Regions from separate parts of the Homo sapiens genome. Here regions 1 and 2 are each linked to region 3. Evidence: promoter capture Hi-C in 16 types of primary human blood cells and fetal thymus (Javierre and others, 2016). All regions are on one chromosome and are shown on one strand. Each heading gives the region's core, a stretch centred on a gene start or on the middle of the fragment in contact. The rest is flanking DNA. Distances are from core to core; before and after follow the strand shown. Region 1 overlaps KLHL7 (kelch like family member 7). Region 2 holds the start of PHF14 (PHD finger protein 14). Region 3 holds the start of ANKMY2 (ankyrin repeat and MYND domain containing 2).

Evidence for each region. The method cuts DNA at HindIII sites, captures the fragments that hold promoters and counts their contacts. A CHiCAGO score of 5 or more calls a contact.
Region 1: a fragment that was not itself captured here is called in contact with the fragment with the promoter of ANKMY2 in region 3 in 1 of 17 cell types (non-activated CD4 T cells); the score reaches 5.6 in non-activated CD4 T cells.
Region 2: a contact is called between the fragment with the promoter of PHF14 here and the fragment with the promoter of ANKMY2 in region 3, in 4 of 17 cell types (naive CD8 T cells, total CD4 T cells, non-activated CD4 T cells and 1 more). The highest score is 8.9, in naive CD8 T cells.

What each region holds. Positions count from the first base shown.
Region 1 is chr7:23,106,620-23,110,939 of GRCh38, reverse strand. All of the region lies in intron 1 of KLHL7 (kelch like family member 7), which reads right to left. Among named protein-coding and RNA genes, the nearest start is that of KLHL7, 3.0 kb to the right of the region's middle. RefSeq lists enhancers at 4,209-4,288, 3,994-4,320. The HindIII fragment of the contact is 2,615 bases long and covers 1,411-4,025 here.
Region 2 is chr7:10,971,348-10,975,599 of GRCh38, reverse strand. It overlaps PHF14 (PHD finger protein 14), which reads right to left and starts at 1,728. Exons shown (of 18, transcript NM_001007157.2): 1 at 1,276-1,728; 2 at 655-765. The coding sequence starts at 1,276. RefSeq lists silencers at 884-933, 1,914-1,973, 2,484-2,533 and an enhancer at 1,664-1,958. The HindIII fragment of the contact is 4,357 bases long and covers 1-2,310 here.
Region 3 is chr7:16,643,223-16,647,662 of GRCh38, reverse strand. It overlaps ANKMY2 (ankyrin repeat and MYND domain containing 2), which reads left to right and starts at 1,909. Exons shown (of 10, transcript NM_020319.3): 1 at 1,909-2,156. The coding sequence starts at 2,090. BZW2 (basic leucine zipper and W2 domains 2) reads right to left here and starts at 1,482. Exons shown (of 12, transcript NM_014038.3): 1 at 1,375-1,482. RefSeq lists an enhancer at 1,503-1,782. The HindIII fragment of the contact is 5,140 bases long and covers 235-4,440 here.

The sequences.
Region 1 (4,320 bases), core at 1,469-3,968, 6.5 Mb before region 3:
TCATTTCAATGAATGAACTTGGAAGCCAAATTGAACTAGAGTAATAAATAAATAGTAAGTAAGAAAATGTAGTGAACCGCATGTTCTCACTCATAGGTGGGACTTGAACAATGAGAACACACGGACACAGGAAGGGGAACATCACACTTTGGGGACTGTTGTGGGGTGGGGGGAGGGGGGAGGGATAGCATTAGGAGATATACCTAATACTAAATGACGAGTTAATGGGTGCAGCACACCAATATGGCACATGTATACATATGTAACAAACCTGCACATTGTGCACATGTACCCTAAAACTTAAAGTATAATAATAATAAAATTAAAAAAAAAACAAAAGAAAATGTAGTGAATTTACTCAGCTTTTCATCTTAATGGGGGGAGAGAAGTATTTAGAGGGGTATGTTGAGATTAAGAATGGGTTTGCTGGTTGTTTGGTTCAAAAGCTGGAGAGGTTAAAACAAGCTTAAGTGCTAATAGCAAGAATCCAGCAAAGAAGAAAAGTTAAAGATGCTCAACAAAGATGGAATAACCAACAGTATAATACTTCTGAGAAGCCCAGCATCCAGGAAGCCAAAGCCTAGGTAGAAGTACTGGCCTTAGAAAAAGCAGCAGCATCTCCATTGTAGCAGGATAAGAAGAGAAAAGGGAAAGTGTCAAAATAGGTTTATAGATCTGGTGGTAGAAAGTGAAAAGGTAGACAGTTCTAGACTAATGACTTCTATTTATCTATGGTGTCAAAAGAAGGTGATCTGCTGAAAGTGAGGATCTAGAGAAAGGACTCAGATTGGAGGAAAATAGTAAAACAAAAAGATTGCTCACGGGCACTGATAGTCTAGTGGAAATTAGTGGCCAAGCACTTACTTGGCAGAAGTTGCCCAGTGAGATATTTTCCAGCTGTGCTTGGAGCCTTGCACAAAGAAGGTAATCAGTCATCAATACTCAAGTTTGCCAGATGGACATGAAAAAGGGACAGAGGGTCAAGAAAACTGGGACACTGGAGAGACAGTGGAGTGACAATAGCTTCTAAGCTGGACAGACAGAAAAAGAAAACAGAAAACAGTAAAGTACAGGAAAAAGAATAAGAAGGTCTGGATGACTGGAATTGTCAATGAAAGTTAAGAGAATTAAATGAGACAAAGCATGTAAAACACTCTGCAGAGTGGCTGGAACAGTTATAAGTGCTCAAGAAGTCTTATTAATATCAAGGGTTTAACACTGAAGGTTTAGATTATTCACAAGAGAACCTAAAGATAATGACATGTAGTAATTTACAGTCAGACAGATGAGAATACAGAAGCAAAGTCATTTTAGCCGGAAGGTGAGCCCAGTTAACTGCCCAGTATCTAATTGTGAAATCAGCTTTGTAGTTCTCTCACATAACTCTCAATAAGGACTTTAACATAAGCTTTCAAGTTCCAGTTATGCTTTAATTCATTTAATGTGGAGAAACTATAAACTATGGTGGTACTCAGGAAGGTCTTAAAACATCTTCCTCCAATGTTAAGAGACTCCTGGACTTCATTAACACAAAAGAAGAGTATGGCAACAGCAATGTGCATGTGCAATAGTGACTGTGACCCAGACCTGCCTTGTAAAGCCTCTATTTTACATATCAGGTAATAACATTAATCTAAGCAAAAAGTTAAAGAAATAAATGAAAAGGTACTCAATCCAATTAAATAAGATGCTCCTATACACCCAGTTAGAATGGCTAAAGTGATAAGACTGACAACATCAAGTGATGGCAGGGATGCGGAGCAAAAACCTCTCTCACACACAACTGGCAGAAGCGTAACATGGTACAATCACTTTGGAAAACTACACGACGATATCTTTTAAAGCTGAAGGTGGTATAGCTTATGACTCAAAAATTCCTGTTTGGTATTTCCCAACACAAATATTAATACATACATATGCATACCAAAAGGCATGTACAAAGTGTACAAAAATGTTCAAAGTAGTACTAGTCTTAATAGTTCCAAACTAGAAATAACCCAAATGTTCATAATGATAGAATGGATAAATTGTGCTATATTCATTCAATGGGATACTATATACCACAAGGATGAAGTAGCGCTACACACAGCACAGATGAATCTCACAAACAATGTTGGCTTTAAGAAAACAAAACACAAGAGTTTATGCCATATGATTACATTTATATAAGTTCAAACACAGGAAAAACCCACTTTTTGCCGATGTGCTGCAGACTTTCATGAATGCACCACACACCAAAGACAGAACAAAGAGCTCCTCTTAATAACAGGGGTGCATAGTGCCCTTAGAAGATGGCATGGCATGGTATTTATCAATGGTTGCTTCTGCTCTAACTTCGATGGTTACAGAGTTAGAATAGTTGTTACTACTGTGGGGTTGGTGACTGAGAAGGGCATAAGGGGGGACCTCTGGTGTACTGGTCATGTTCTCGTCTTGTTGGTGGGATGTGCACTTTGTAATAATTGAGCTATACATTTATGATTTGTGCCCTCTTATATGTATCCCATACTTCACTGGAGAGTTTACTTAGAAACAAAAGGCTAGAAATGACAAAAACAATGTAGGAAAAGGCTTTAGAAGAAGCCGAGGCTGCTGGCTCTGCAGAATCCCCTTTTGCCTCTATGTATAGAATCGGCCACTATACTACAGAGAGATGGAATGACCCAAATCATGTTATCTAAAATAACAAAATGAAATAATGAGAGAGCAGGATTGGAACTGAGGTATGCTAATCTCACAATGTTCTCAAATTCTTGAAGGAATGTTTCTGGATGTTTACAGAGGGGTCCTTGTCATCTAGGCACTCATTATCCTGATCCTTAAAGCAATGAGATTGTAAAGGGATGTAAAAGTAGTCATAACACAAAAATATTTACTAAAGAACAAGAGCACTTATAAAGTTGGTCCTCACTCAAACATTCCTACTCTGGCTCAGACCAGCCACTGTTTCTGCCAATTCCCATCAACTGCCCTTGTCAGTCATTCTCGGTCAATTGTTTCCTGTGTTATGATGTTAAACAGGACAATACAATATAACCATAATGTAAATCAATTGCGAAGTGAAACTGCACATCTTGCAAAAGATGCATGATTCCATGAAGTTGATAAAAGTGCTATTGGAGAACTGTTTGAATCACATGCCAAACCACTGACAACAGGAGAACCTGGCAGATTAAGGTCAGTTAATCATTGTGGAGGGGACCCCTGGTTGTTCACCAGGTAACCATTTTTTCCTTCCTACTCAGTAACAGAACCCTGATTTTTCAGTAATTGTACTTCTATTGTAACGGTAAATAAGTGATGTTAATATACTCCAAAGCTAAGAAATGTGAGTCACTTTTTAAATCCAAAGAGCTAAACGGACAGTCTCAGATAATCCTCTGCTCCTCAAGTAAATATTTGCTGCTGCAATCCAGTTTCACCCTATTTAGGGATTAAGGCAATGCTTTACAATGCTATGATCCACGAATGAAAACATATATTCGAGGGAGTGGGAGGGAACCTAATGAGTCTTCAACGAGTTTAAGCCCTGGTTAACTATGTTCAACTACCATTACAGGCAGGCAATAGCTAAATGCACCAGCAATTTGAAGTCTGTGGTATTGTAGATACAAAAAGGTTTACATGAAAGGAACATGAATTTGAAAATAGATACATGAAAGTCAGTTACATAAATTAACGAATTCAGGCATTCACAGTACTTCAGCACAAAGGCCAGGCCAGGAAAGATTTAAAAGCATTCCCACAGACTGCACTGGTGCACTGTAGCAGGAGCTGGTGAACAAAGACAAAATCCCAGCAGTCAGCGTTTGCTTATAGAAACCAGAAGTTAATATCTTCATAAAAATCTTAAATTCCTCTACTGTTGCCCATATTCCCAGCAGAACCACCAGACAAAGCAAACTAGGTTTTGCAGTTACACATAACTCACATCCTGCTTTGTCCCCTTGAAACAGGATCCCAGTCAACAAAACCCAAACATTCCCACAAATCTACTTAGATGTGTATTATCTATAAATAAAGCTTACAGAAAGGAAAAAGTGACTTTCTATGCTTATCGGTGTAGATGTTATGGAATTAAAAAAAAAAAAAGCCTCTTTGTTTCACCTTCGCCAGCGTTAAAATCCGTTCTTTTCATAACCCACCTTTCGCCGATGTGCTGCAGAATTTCACGAATGCACCACACACCAAGGACAGAACAAAGAGCTCCTCTTAATAACAGAGGCGCACAGTGCCCTTAGAAGATGGCATGGTATTTATCGATGGCTGCTTCTGCTCTAAATTAGCACGAACAGGAGGACTCCTCTTCAACTAGCTCCA
Region 2 (4,252 bases), core at 479-2,978, 5.7 Mb after region 3:
ACACTGAACAGAAAATACAAAGGAAAATCATACTTTTCTGTTTTCCAGTTTAGTACAATGTGAATATACGACCTTTAAAAAAAGTTTTTAAAATTACTAAATATAGTGAGCAAGCATGCATGACTTATACTTCAGAGACATCTGAAAGGCCCAATCCACAAGGTCCAGCACCTACTATAATTTGAAGTGCAACTCTTACTCTGGTCAATTTTATTCTAGTAAAAGAGCTAATACACAAAAAAAGCAAAACTCCCCTAAGAGATTGTCAAGTGATCTGAAAAAAGAAGAACCCTGCTCAGGGACTATTAATGGTCCACACACCTCTCAGGATACTTTTCTACTTCGGGATATCTTTCAGTTTTTTCCTCTATAATATAAGCATAAATATATTTTAAGGTGTAAAACAGAGAAATCCTTTTGCATCTTTGGAAAAAGTCCTTCCCCTGACTGCTAATTATCTCTGAGGAAAACAGAAGCAATTATAGGTCTAGTGACAGGATCTAAAGGCAAAATGGGAAATCAAATGGACAAAATAAATGAAGTTTACGTGCTTTCACTTAAAATTGGCATTTTAATCAAAACCGATTTAAAAAGTCTAAAAATAAGCCTAACTCCAGAAAGCTGGGAAAGGGGAAGAGAGAAGGAAATATTTACCTGAGGCATCTCCAACTTTAAAATCACTGTCATCTGAACTATCATAATCAAGAGCTTCCAGCAGAGAAGCTGCCAAAGGCTTCACCTGCCTCCTCTTGGAGCTGCGATCCACTGTGAAGAGAAAAAAATTACATTGTCATTCATAATCACACCAAACACAGGGGAGAGTTGTGGTGCTAAGAGAACATAAAGATGACCTCGCACAAGGAATTTTTGTCTAACTGAGTTCTCAGCAAAAGGGGTCAGGAGAAGGTTGGGGTGCAGAAGCAGGGTGGGGAGGGCTGGACAGCTCCACGGGCAGTTTCAAAGGCAGCTCCAGCCCTGATGCTGCCAACGCCAACTCAGACCAGCTAAAATCGAAGCTGACCCTCTTGCTCATCTTTTCGAGATGTTTCTGCACCTTCCTCGTAATCCCCCACTTAGACATCGTAACAGTCAATAAAAACGGCAAAAATCAGGGAATAAAACAAGCGGGCTTCATTCCCGCGGACCATGGAGGGCGAGGGTCCACCAATCCTGCTTTCCCGCAGGACTCTCCCACCCCTGCCCTGCTCCCACCGGCCCTGACTTCTAGAATGGCTGAAATGGACCTCTCGCCGCAGAGGCCTCGGATACACTTACTAAGGAATCCGTGAGGTGGTCGTTTGGAGAAGACTTAGGGAGAGGCTGCAGGAGCCCAGGCAGCGCCGAGGTCGGGGACTGGGGCCGCGAAGACAAGTCCGAAAGATGCTATTTAAAACCGGCGCGCAGCCAGCCGGACAGGGGCGCTCCCAAGAGTAGCCCCGCGGTCCCCTAACCCCCCGCCCCCCCGGCCTCGCCTGGCCCTGGCCGCTCGAGCCCCTTCCCACAGCGCTCCCTGGCCGGAGAAGACCTCCGGCCCAGGCAGCGCAGTCAACCCGGCGGCCCCGGGGAGTTAATTTCTCCCGTTAAAACTAGAAGAAAAAAAATTAAAGAAAGAAAAACTTTATTAGCCTGGACCAGAAGCAACGAAAGACCAGAAATTGCACAGCGCGAGGGCGGCTGCCTCAGACAATAGGGAAAGCAGCGACCCGGATACAGCTCTGAAAAGGAAGTGAAAACACGAGGCTGAGCGCAGCCCTGAGAGCAGCAGGAATTGAGGGCGCATGCGCAGGACTCGCCCCCGCGCACCCTTCCCGAGCAGGAGCCGAACAGAGCCGAGTGAAAGCCCAGGGAGCCGCGCGGAGGCGAGCGGAGCCGAGTAGTGCCAAGGCGGAGCAGAGATCCCCGCCAAACCCTGTGCAATTCCGCCCATAAACCCCAAAGGCTCCGCCCTCTCCGCGCCTAATTCACCTCCTGAGTCCAAATCCCTGGGAGGCCAGTTTTTGTTTCTGATCTGTTTTTTAAGGATTTACTGAGTAAACGTTCCACAAAGGGATGTTTGCTACCTTAAGCCACTACCAATATTTAAATGATATTGTCACCGGTAGAGGATCGTGACTGCAAGTTGTCCAGGTTCTTGGCGTTTTTAACAAAGAATTGGACAAAACGCCCAGCAAAGCAAAGAAAGAATGAAGCAACAAAACAACAAAAGCAGGGACTTATTGAAAATTAAAGCACGCTCTGTACGGAAGCGACCTGAGCAGCGGCTCAAGGGCCCGGATACAGAATCTTGAGTCCAAATACCCTCTAGAAGCTTCCTATTGGCCACCTAATGCTCACCTCATGTAAATGAAGTAACGCGCAATCAGTCTGATTGGTTGCAGAAAGCAGCCAACCAGAGGCTGAAGTGAAGTTACAAAGGTCATGCTCCTGTGCAAACATTGGTGCAAAAAGCAATCAATCAGAGGCTAGGGTGAAGTTACAAAGTGGTATACCTCTATGCAAAGGAAGATTTCCCCTGCAATCAGTTTGATTTCTTGCAGATGGTGAAGTTACAAAGTGATACTTCTATGCAAAGGAAGACTCTCCTGCAATCAGTCTGATTTGCTGCCCACAGCCAATTTCCCATCTGCCCTGCAGAAAAAGTGGGGGTTTGCAAAGGGAGTAGCCTCTGGTCCTTTTGTTACTTAGGCATGGAAAGTTAGGGGTTTCCTTTCAATTTAGTTCTTAGGAAGTCGGAGTGACACATCCTTAGGTTCCCTGCCTCCACACCCTATTCTCCTGCCTCACTCTCACCCAAACTATCATTGCCATGTGACCTCTCAAACTTTTCTATTGTGCTATAGAAACTTCTATTCCAAAATGTATAACCTACTTAGTAAACATTTTTCCTTTTCAATGCCCATTCTTTTTACCTCCTCATCTGAAATAGAAACAGTTACCCTGCAGCCCTCTCAAATGAAAACCACTCATCCTTCCATACTTCATTTTCTCAAGGTGCAGAAGTGGCATCCCATGCTTAATACTCCTCATTGCCTTTCAGATATTTATTCTTCCAGTTAAAATCCTAGGAACTTGGTTATTTTAAAAACTCCACTCTGGGAATTTCACTTCCATTCTACTTTAAACACCAACCATATCATGGACTGATAGTCTTATCTATGAAATTATAAATCCAAATATTCCACTGTTTGACAATAGCCTTTTAGATTTATTTGGAGCAATTATGCTGAATCATCTAAAAGAGAAATTCAAAATCTGGCATTCGTGTTTATGTAAAACTAATTTCTAGAAGGAGATTTTCAGAATCAAAATGTATTAATTCATTTACTTTAATAAATAACACCTAGTTGCTCTAGAAAAACTGTACTGCCGGGTGCGGTGGCTCACGCCTGTAATCCCAACACTTTGGGAGGCTGAGGCGGGTGGATCACTTGAGGTTGGGAGTTCGAGACCAGCCTGCCCAACATGATGAAACCCCGTGTCTACTAAAAATACAAAAATTAGCTGGGCGTGGTGGCACATACCTGTAATTCCAGCTACTTGGGAGGCTGAGGCAGGAGAATCACTTGAACCTGGGAGGCAGAGGTTGCAGTGAGCAGAGATCACGCCACTGCATTCCAGCCTGGGTGACAAGAGTGAAACTCCGTCTCAAAAAAAAAAAAAAAAAAGTCTGTACTAATATATATACCACCAAGAGTGGATAAGAATTCTTTCTAGTTTTCCAAACCTGTGGCCATTGGATATCAGCAATCATTTTTTTTTAACTTTTAATTTTGAAGTAATTTCAGATTTACCAAAAAGTGCAATAATAATACTGAGTTTTTGTACATCCTTCACCTAGCTACCACTAATATCAGTATCTTATATAACCATAATACATTTATCAAAACTAAGAAACTAACATGAGTACAGTTTTGTTGACTAAACACTTTATTTATATTTCACTAATTTTCCTACTAATGTCCTTTTTTCTGTTCCAAGATCCAATCCAGAAGACAATATTGCATTTAGGTTATTAATCTTTTGCAATTCATGTATTGAAAGAAAGTAAGAGAAGGAAAGAAGGAGAAAAGGAGGGAAGGAAGAGAGGGAGGGAAAAAGGAAGAAGAAAAGTAGGGTAAAAAGAAAAGAAAAAAATTACCTAATTCCTTTTTTTGACCTGCATTCAATAAACATGGAAAGAACTGCTGGTTGTTTCCCAATACCCATTATCTCCTTTTTCTTCAAAAATGGAAGCTCCAAATTTTAACTGGGC
Region 3 (4,440 bases), core at 660-3,159:
GCTTGAACAGCCACATCATTATTAAAGCATCATCCAACAAAAGTATCTTTGTTATACACTGAGATGAATAATTTCAAACCATTTTCATGTAAGATGTTCTGGCTCAGATCTGTCCCAGTCTTTAATGCTGAAGCTTTAGGGGGGAAAAACAGCTGGAGTTTAGGAAAGATTTTTGCTAAAGGCAGGAAATAATGATAAACATATTCCAGGAGATTTCAGATGTTAGTGAAAGCTTCACGCAAAATAAATGCCTAAGGCCAGAGGAAAATGCATTTCGCTTTTCGTATGGCGCTATGAGAAGAAACAGTGGTCCTGGGGATGCTTAACAAAAACCACCTACATAATTACTCAAATATTTCTCTTTGACACATACACGTCTCTTTGACACACATATTGAGAGAAACATCAATACTACTCTGTAGGGAAACAACAGTAAAACATAAACACTAATTTCCAAAGAAACTTTCATTGATGATGTAAATATAAATCTGCACCCTGGAGAAATGACTGATTCCCGCATTTTAGCAAGCAAATCTTATTCTGAAATACACACTTGTATTTACCCCCATCTACCTATGGTCGAAGCTCCAGGCTACATATTACAGTTGAATGAAGGTTGGATTAAGAGGCTAATCTAAGGCTATATATAGGCAGCAACACCAATTTAATCTCCGCCCTCTCCAACCTCCCCACCCTCCACTCCCTATTTCCATAAATCTCAAGATCTGAGTTACAAAGAGAACCGAGAACTCTAGCAGAGCAAAGAAGCCCTTCCTTCCCCCTCCCACAGGCTGTCTCTCATAAACGAAGTATTAGTGCAAGTGTAAATTGTTTCCAAACATCTTTAACAAGCAACATTGGGCGATCAGGTTTTCTTCTACAGCTTCCACAGAGGCCAAAGAGATGACAAGTAGTGGGGAGGGCGAGGATCACCAGCGTAAAAACTACCTTCTCCCGAGTCTGTTCTCACTGACTCGCTAGTAATGGGGCGCTGTCCTTGCGACCCCTACCTAGCCCAGAGCCCCGGCCCCAGCCTCCCCGGGAGCCGCATCTGGCGGTGCCACGCACGAGACCATGTGCACCCGCCACTTCCCACCGCGTGGCTGGCCCCCGCCCGCCCGCCCGCGGTCCCAGGGTCTCCCGAGGCGGCCAAACGTTGCGAGTCGGAGGTCTTCATCCCAGGGCACTGATACCCCGTACGCGCCGTGATGATGAGGTGGAGCGGGGGCTTCTCCACCGCGAGGCAGGAAGCCGCCCCAGGAGGCACATGCTTCCTCCCCGCCAGCTCCTGCCCGATGGAAACCCCGGCGGGGCGGCAGTCGCTACTCTCGCAACCCTCACGGCGCCCCTTGCCTCACCTGGGCTGCTTCTCACCTGTCCGAGGAGGTAGCGACGACGCGCAAGGCTGGGGGCTGCGGCGATTCGTGCAGCAGCAGCGGCAGCAGCAGCAGCAGCAGCAGTGGCGGCAGACAATGGAGGAGTGAAGGACAGACACATTGACATAGACACACGGAACCCGGCGCAGCCCCGCCTCCCGTACCGCCCCCGTCTCCTAGACCGCCCCCGCCCAGACTGCGCCACTCCCGGGGGAATGGTGGGGGTACGGCGACAACCTGGGGCCTCTGCATGCCCCAGAAAGCCGTCGCTGAGCACATAACTGCCAGCTGTAGAATTTTCAATATTACATGTGGCGAAATATTTGAACCGGACAGGATAGGGGAGCGGAACGTGTAGGAGGAATTTAATTCCCCCCTCCAGCTTTCTGCATTTGGTTTTGTCCTCCCAGGTTGCTCCAATGGCGATCTCTCGCTACCGCCTCCTGCGGCTCCTCCTCCTCGGCAGGGCCAATGACAGGCGGCAGGCGGTGACCGCCGCAGGGCCTGCGGAGACCGTCCGCCTGGCTCGCCCGAGCTCGCCCGCTGTCCGCCAGCCCGCGGGAGGGAGGAGAGAAGCGAAGCGTTTCCGCGGTTGGCTACTCAGTGTCTTGGTCTCAAGTTGCCTCATTGCGGCTGGCGTTCCCAATACAGACGCATCGTTTCTTTTTTAATACTCCCTAAGAAAGGGAATAACCTTCAAGCTGGCGGGAGCAATGGTTCACATAAAGAAAGGCGAGCTGACCCAGGAGGAGAAGGAGCTACTGGAAGTCATCGGGAAAGGTACGGGTGCTGGGCTGCGACGCGGCCGCGGCCAGCCTGGCCGGGGGGCGTGGCGGAGCCCGGGGGGCGCTCCTGGCCTGGGTGACCTTTGGCTGCGGTTCTGCAAGGTTTGCAGCCTGGAACCGGGAAAGAGCGTTTCTCCCTTTGGTCTGGGAAAGGTTGCAGGGGCGGAGAGGTGGGGAGGCAGAAGCAGTGCTGGGACAAGAGGGGTAGTTACAGAGGCTCGGCCTCTAAATCCGCTTTTGGAAACGTACGGATTTCCACGCCCCGCCTTAGGTTAATGCGAGCTTCCCGGGGTGTGGACCCCAGTGTGTGAATTCTTCACTGCTCCCGAGGGATTTTGACCGCGGTCAGTCCTGGTAGTTTCAGGTTCTTAGGCGGGTGTCTAAATGACCCTTTAGACTTCCGCAGGCCGAATGATCTGGATCCTTTGCCGATCCCCGCCCCCGCTTGGGAGTGGAGGGCGCCCTTAGGGAGAGGGGTTCTTCATAAGGGTACAGAACTAGGTCTGTAATTTGCTGCATTGAGACTTCCGTATCCAGGGCCTCCCTGGCTTCCAGAAGCCCCGACAGCCTCAGGAACCCTAGAGAGACAAGGAAATTGGCGAGGCCTCCACACCCACCCCTCGGCCCACGTTGCACAGATGAGACCTTCTAATCGCGCTCCTTCGCGCTTTCTTGTCCACTCCCCCAAGGCGTGCCCCACTTCCGCAGTGCTGAGTCCCAGCGGGGAGCCCCGAGGACGAGCCAGAAGCCATATTTCCCCGGAGTCCCCGAGTGGACGTCCCAGAGGAGTTCCCTGCCGAGTCCCGTTACCTGGCAGGTGACATCAGCGTGACTGCATGCTTCTTCTGCACCCTCACGGTGCAGGGATGGTGATGCGTGCGACTCCGGGCAATTAATGTGGTGATTTTAAACTCAATAATAATATAGCCATGTTTGTCCTCGAATGGCAGAGATGCCAGTCATTGCAGCATAAGGCTTCCCAGTTTCCAGTTTTATTTACTTAGTAGCCAGGCTGAAATGTGGAATCCTAGAGAATAAGGCAGATTTATTCTTCATAGCGACAAGGAAACTCCACATGCGAAGGAGAAAAAATTCCGGTTTGAACTCAACAGGTGCTGATGAGCTGAGCCCACCCGATCTGATCTCAACTATTCTAAGTCAGTCACAGCTATATCTATCAATGATGTGTTCTTTGCCTGGAATTTGGGGATTTGGGTTAGAGTTTAGATTGTTGTACTGCATGGTTCTTGCTGACCTATTTGGCATTTCAGTCTTTCAGTTCTTCCTGTCTCTAGGTAATTTCTCCCTGCCTTTGATGGCTCTGGGATTCAATTAAGCAAACATGCAAGTTCTAGCTGTGTGCCAGGTACTGTGCTGGGCAAAAAGGAGACAAAGGATCAATTCACAATCCACCAGGGACAAAAATTCTTTTAGGCAGGACAGAGCTAGTACATGTCCTCTCTCTCTCTCGCTCTCGCTGTCTCTTTCTCTCTCTCTCTCGTTTGTTTGAGACAGGATCTCACTCTTCACCCAGGCTGGAGTTGCAGCTCTCTGCAGCCTCCACCTCCCTAGTGGCTGGGACTACAGGTGCGAGCCACCATGCCCGGCTACTTTAGAAAGATTTTTTTTTTTTTTTTGTAGAGATGGGGTGGTGGGGGTCTCCCTATGTTGCCCAGGCTGCTCTCGAACTCCTGGGCTCAAGTGATCCTCCTGCCTCGGCCTCCCTAAGTGCTGGGATTACAGGCATGAGCCACTGGGCCTGGCCCATCATGTGATCTCTTAAAAGTGAAAAATAGTGAGCAGTTTTATAAATTGAGTCTTTGAGAGGGGAGAAGGGATTCCTTGGATACATTCTCAGGTGTCCATCAGTATTTATTTTGAAGATTATATAAACCTGAATTAATGTGCATTTATTCTGGTTAGTGCTGTGATATTTCTGGGCTCACACGGTGCATCAAGTTGCATGAGTGCACTGATGCTTTCATCGCTTTCATTGGACCATGCCAATGAGAAAAGAACTGATGTGGACCTAGTATGTGATGCATTCTTGTCAAATGAAGGTCTGTGGGACATCACTTGCACTCATAAAGAAAAGTAATGGGAGATATGAGAAAAACAACCATAGCCAACGTTTATTGACTGTTATTGCAAGCCACACATAATTTTAAGTACTTTACATATATTAATGCATTTAATTTGGATGAGCTAGGAATTAATTTTAAGCTATGACAGTATGAGAGACAGCATGGGATAGTGGTTAACCATGCAGGTCTGGTTTG